Linked DNA regions of Homo sapiens: region 1 is linked to region 2. Evidence: promoter capture Hi-C in human tissues and cell types (Jung and others, 2019). All regions are on one chromosome and are shown on one strand. The core of a region is centred on a gene start or on the middle of the fragment in contact, and the rest is flanking DNA. Distances in the headings are between cores, read along the strand shown.

Evidence for each region. The method cuts DNA at HindIII sites, captures the fragments that hold promoters and counts their contacts. A contact is called where the count stands out against the background at its distance.
Region 1: a fragment that was not itself captured here is called in contact with the fragment with the promoter of TEAD3 in region 2 in 1 of the 25 tissues and cell types used here (dorsolateral prefrontal cortex).

The regions. Positions count from the first base shown.
Region 1 is chr6:36,522,534-36,525,308 of GRCh38, forward strand. It overlaps STK38 (serine/threonine kinase 38), which reads right to left. Exons shown (of 14, transcript NM_007271.4): 4 at 1,808-1,930. Among named protein-coding and RNA genes, the nearest start is that of STK38, 24 kb to the right of the region's middle. The HindIII fragment of the contact is 7,855 bases long and covers 1-2,775 here.
Region 2 is chr6:35,495,128-35,498,328 of GRCh38, forward strand. TEAD3 (TEA domain transcription factor 3) reads right to left here and starts at 1,952. Exons shown (of 13, transcript NM_003214.4): 1 at 1,771-1,952. It overlaps TULP1 (TUB like protein 1), which reads right to left. Exons shown (of 15, transcript NM_003322.6): 15 at 2,747-3,201. The coding sequence ends at 3,200. LOC124901309 (a long non-coding RNA gene) reads left to right here and starts at 3,006. Exons shown (of 2, transcript XR_007059561.1): 1 at 3,006-3,080. RefSeq lists enhancers at 196-981, 1,928-2,858, 2,859-3,201 and silencers at 1,760-1,809, 1,990-2,119, 2,130-2,459. The HindIII fragment of the contact is 31,199 bases long and covers 1-3,201 here.

The sequences.
Region 1 (2,775 bases), core at 85-2,584, 1.0 Mb after region 2:
ATGCTTAGGAAAAACGTCTGGAAAGAAAAACAAAAAATTCAGGCCAGGCGCGGTAGCTCACACCTATAATCTCAGCACTTTGGAAGGCCGAAGCAGGTGGATCACCTGAGGTCCAGGAGTTCGAGACCAGCCTGGCCAACCTGGTGAAACCCCGTCTACTAAAAATACGAAAATTAGCTGGGTGTGGTGGCAGGTGCCTGTAATCCCAGTTATTCGGGAGGCTAAGGCAGTAGAATCACTTGAACCCGAGAGGCGGAGGTTGCAGTGAGCCAAGATCAAGCCATTGCACTCCAGCCTGGGCAACAGAGCAAGACTCTGTCTCAAAAAAAAAAAAAAAAAAAAAAAGAAGAAGAAGAAAATTCAAAATGTGTAATTAGGGAAATTGTGTTTTATGTAGTTTTCCTTCTCTTTTATGTTTTCCAATGTTCTTAAAGAAAACAGATAATTTTATGAAGAAAATTTACAACCAAAAGAAAAATTTCACTGCAAGTTCCTGCATGTCCTCCCCTCTTCTCCCAAAATAAGTAGGTTTTCTTCTCCCTGAACCTTTCTTCATGTTTTTCCTAATTGAGTACCACAACCCTTCCTTGCCAAACAGAAAGCTCTTTCAGAGGTGGTACTATACTTTTCCCTCTTTCAAGAAGCCAATAGGAATTCTGAACACTGAGGGATCAATCTATCACCTGTGCCTCTGAATACTATTCACATTTCCCCGGGGTACCAGGTTTTTTGTTTTTTTTTTTTTTTGAGATGGAGTCTTGCTCTGTCACCCAGGCTGGAGTGCAATGGTGCAATCTCGGCTCACTGCAACCTCTGCCTCCTGGGTTCAAGCAATTCTCCTGCCTCAGCCTCCTGAGTAGCTGGGATTACAGGCACGTGCCACCACACCCGGCTAATTTTTCTATTTTTAGTAGAGACAAGGTTTCACCATGTTGTCAGGCTGGTCTCGAACTCCTGACCTTGTGATCCGCCCGCCTTGGCCTCCCAAAGTGCTGAGATTACAGGAGTGAGCCACCGTGCCTGGCCCCGGGGTACCAGGTTTTAATAATATACTGCTCCTTTTATACTTGCAATTATTGCGTCAGTAGGTCATCCAGTTTGGGCATTTTTCATTAACAGGAATGACCTTGCATGGGCTCTTTCAAGCTCTCCCCAACAGATTGCTCTTGTGCCCAAGCAGGATCATTTCCAAGAATTGCGGGGACAAAGTCGCAAATGCTTTCAACTCTCCACCACTACCTATATAACTCCTTTCTGTAAATCCTCCCTCCTAGGGTCATCTTTTTAGAGCTGTATCAATCTGGTGGGGAGAAATAAAGGGTGGAGATACACTATTAGTTTCCTTCTCGAGAGGCAGTGCAGTACTGGGAAAAGCAAGCTCTTTGAGTTCAGGAAGTAGAGCCCAACTTTTGGTCCCAGTACTCAATGGCTGTGTGATAACAAGAGACATTATATATACCTTTAGAGTCTTAATTTCACCATCTATAAAATGGGTTACTGTCCTGATTATGGGAAAAAAGCAGCCTGTAAATAATAAATGTTGATTTCCTTCTACCTTTCAACTCTCCCCCTAAGTCAATATTTAAACACCAACACCATCTCTGGCAAAACAGAGAACAGAGATCTGGGACTGCGGAGAGAAGAAAAAGAGAAAGCAGACAGACAAAGCAATTAGGATGTGGGGCTGGCATGCCTGACTCATTTAATTCCATATATTTGTTATATCAACAATCATGACTTAATGGTATGTTAGAAGCTTTGAAGTTTTGCAATATTTTTCTACTTGACAAGTAGCTGTGATTTTTACCTCACCAAATGCTCCTCTGCCTATTACTTTTAAGGACTCAAAATCTTCCAATCCAAGTCTTGTTCTCTTCAAACGAAGAAACTCTGTTTCCTTCCGAGCATGTGCTGATCTCCGGAGTCGTTTCTAATATTTAAATAAAAAAGGGAGGAGACGGGAAGGAACTGAAATTCTGAAACTCTGTAACAAGTCATGTTTGTGACTTACCCAGCTAGAAAACAGGTCCAAGTGGACTAAGGATAATCTTTTCACATATGAAATCACCCCAGAAGGATCCTTAAGAGGTCACTTCTCCCTTTCCTGGCATTTAGACACAACATCCAAGCCACACTGAACAGATGGGTGCCTCCTCTGGGAACTCTGACTAACCTACTTCAGCAATCCACTATCCTAACATTTTTGGTGAAGGGAGGGATAAATAATCAACAATATTTTCCTTTATCCTGTTTAATATAAATTAAAAATGTGTTCTTATCTTTCCCTCTGGCTTAAACACTGTATACTCTAACTTTCTGTTATTTCTACAAGTATTGGGTATTTTTCACCACCGTCCTGGGTTCTGCAAGCCAGTCCTATTTTTGAAGGCATTTCCACTACCATTTCAGTTCCTTGCACAGTCCCTTGTTAACTATATTTTCTCCTACTGTATCTGTGGGCACTGGGTGGAAGGGCTGATTTGAGATGGATATTTTGCCTTAATAAAGATTTCAGGAACATGACACACCGGGGCCTGTCGGGGCATGGGGGGAAAGGGAGGGAGAGCATTAGGACAAATACCTCATGCATGCGGAGCTTAAAACCTAGATGACAGGTTGATAGGTGCAGCAAACCACTATGGCACATATATACCTATGTAATAAACCTGCATGTTCAGCACACGTATGTATCCCAGAAAAAGTAAAATAAATAAATATTTCAAAAATTTGCCCTACTCCTACGGAGACTTTTCAGTGAATTCTATAAAAATGCTA
Region 2 (3,201 bases), core at 702-3,201:
CAACTGGTTAAAGGTCCGGAGGGGACCAGATCCCTATTTCTTGACCACCTCTGTTGAGATATCTTCTCCTTTGATATTGTTGAGAATATCAAATCCTCCCGGTTTTAACATTCCTTCAGTTGGCAGAAAGTGCCAGGGTCTACAAACCTTTGGGTGAGGATGGGAGCAGGGCTCAGGACCCATGTGATGCTTCTGTACACTTAATGTGCTGCTCTGTCCTGGCAACCACTGACCACTCTAACAAGCCATTCCCCAGCCCAGATGCGCTCATTAGCATTAATGACGTTCCCTCCCTGGGGGGGTAGGGGAAGGCCCAAGAGCTTGGGACTCATACTGGCTCCTACCCTCTCCCTGAGGAGGGGGCATCCAGGGCCCCTGAAGTTACCCTTACTGGACAGCCTTGTCCTGGAAGATCTGTGCACTCTGCCCACTGGGTGAGCAGGGACCCAGAAGACCACAGAACCACATCCTTTAGGGAGTGCCCCTACGAGAGGGGTCTTGGTGGGAGGGGGGCTACAGGAGTCTAGAAGGGAGAGGACATAATTCCCCCAAATCTCCAACTTTTGAGGAAAGCCTCCCCTCCTTGCCCCAGGTGGCCCCAGCACTGGGGTGGAACATGTGTACAGAGAACCAGGCCACAAGAGACTGGATACGCAGAGCCGCTATGGGCACCAGCCCCTCTGAGCTGTGTCCAGCCCCTACCCCTATGCCCTGTTCTTCCGGACAACAAGTCCAGGCCTGACCTGGTTCTGCCCCTACCTGGAAAGAGGGAAGACACAGAAGAAGACAGCCCCTGAGAAGTCCGCCCCAAGGCCTCCTTCCCCCTCGCACTGAAAGAATCTCTCAGCCCTGGATCAGGGCCCCTCACCAGGAAAGTTGACAGAGCGGGGTCTCAATGACACTGCCCCAGGGCCCAGCTGGGCTGGAAAACAGATCCAGACCAGCGCTCCCAGCCCTCCCTCCCCTAGCAGGAATAAAGGGCATGACAGACAATGGTGGGGACCGGGGTAGGAAGCGGGAGACCAGCCACCCTCAAACCTTGTCAAGTCTAAACAAGGGCCCTGAGCAAGTGTGGGGAAGAAAAGGCCCCAAATCCAGACCCCTCCGAGCCAAGCTCACAGCGCTCAGGGCTGGAACTCTGAATCAGCACCCCGACGCAGGCGGCAGAACTGAAGGGAACGTGAGCCCCTCCCTGCCTCTCAGGGGACACACGGCCGGGGCGCGCGGCTTTGGTCCCAGACACCCTCCACAACCCAGCGCAGCCGCGGCACCGCGCGCAGAAACCGGCCTGGGCGCTGGGAGGCCGGGCCCGAGGCCTGCGTGGAGCTGAGGCCGGGCGGGCTCCGGGAGCGCGCGGGCCGGGAGTCCAAAGGGCGGCGGGGCCCGGGACTGGGCGCCCCGGATATGAGCTCCAGGGTGGCAGGCAGGCCCTCCACACTGTGCGGCCCCCGGATCCCCGCCCCGACCCCCCAAGCACGGACGGCGGGACAGGCGACGGCACAGGGGACACGGTCTCCCCGGCTTCCCCACCTTCCCGGACCAACTCGTCCCCGTCGCGGGGGGGTGGGGAGGGCGGGGGGCGGGGCTTCCCGGAGAGATTTTCCCCCTTCCCTCTAAACTTCCCGGCACCCCGATCCGGGGCTCCAGCTCCGGCTGGACAATAGCTCGGGGACCCAGTCCCCCTCGAGTGTCGCCCCCCCAGCCAGCCCAGCCGACCAACCAAACCACCTCTCCCGAGCGGGGCCTCCTCCCGGCGTCCGCCCGGCTTACCTGGTCCGAGCTCGCGGGGGCGCTCCGGCCGGGCCGCTCCGCCGGGCCCGAGGGAGCCGCAAGGGGGGCCGGGGAAGGGGGGTCGTGGGGAGGGGGCTGGCCGGAATGTGCGGAATGAGCCGGGCTGGAGCGGGAGGCGCCGAGCGCGGAGGAGGGAGCGAGCGGGACGGAAAGTTTGTGTTGAGGAGCCGGGGCGGGGGTGGGGGCTGCGGGAAGGAGGGGGCGGGGCGCGCAGGGGGCGGTGCTGGCCGGGAGGGGCGGGGCCGTCCAGCCGCGCTCGGGCCGCCTACCCCGCGGCCTCGCGACCCGGCCACCCCGGCTGGCGCGCGCCTGGGCGCCCCGCTCCTCGCCCGCCCGTGCGGAGCTGCCTTCCTCCCCCTGCGCTCCGGGCCTCGCCCCGCTCCCGGGCACCCGCCGGAATTTGGGGCTCCGGCCTGGGGCGGGGCCGAGGGCGGAGCCCTCGCCTCGCGGGCAGGGCTCCCGTCGGTGCCGGGGGCCGTGGGTGCCGCGTCACGAGGAGCCCGGCAGAGCCGGAGCGCACGGGCCCCGGGGCTCCCGGCCCCTCCACCCTAGTCCCGAGCCGCCAAGGCGGAGCGTACCCTCCAGCTCGCGGGCCTGCCCCCCACTCCCGGGGCCCCAGACCCGGCTCCGCCCTGGCGGCTGCGCCCGCCCTGCCGGGACCCGGTTTGTCTGGTTCTCCCCGCGTGGCTAGTTTCTCGAATTTCTTCTCCCTTTCTCCCTCTTCCCCGACCTCCGGGACCCTCCCTTTCGCCCCGGCTCCCCGGGCCCCCACGGGGGGCGTCTCGACGCTGTGCGGCCGCCGAGTTTCGGTAGGACCCGCGACGGGCGCGGGGAGGGGACGCGGGAGCGCCCGGGGCCTGGGCAGGAGTGGGACGGGGGTTGAGACTTCCAGCTCGCGCCTCGGACGCCTCCTGCCGCCTCGTTCTCCGCACGCGCTGAGGAACCACCGCTCCGCTTGGCCAAGGACGCGGCTTTATTGGGGATGTGGGTGCCTGGCCCTCGTCCCCCATCACCTACCCCCTCCTCCTAGCCCGCCCCAGCTCCTCGGAGCCCTAGCGCGGTCCCGGGGAGAGGGGAGGTTAAAACAACAATGACTACTGCTCCCGGACAGGAAGTGACTGGGGCGCGGGGAGGAGGGGGGCACAGCGGCGCAGGCGAGCTCCGAGACCAGATGTGCGGCTCCAACTCCAGATGTTCTTCATCTCCGTCCTACCCGCCGTCCGGGCTCCTCCTGCCTCGGCCTGTGCCAGGCTGGGGAGAGGACGGAGGTCACCGAGAGGCAGTGAGAGGTCAGCCCCGACACAGGAGCAGTTTTCCGCGGGAGCTTTGCTGGAGGGACCCTGCCAGCCTCCACTGAATCCTTTCCCCCACGCTGACGGGCTCTGGGGGCGCTGAGGGGCTGCTGGGGTC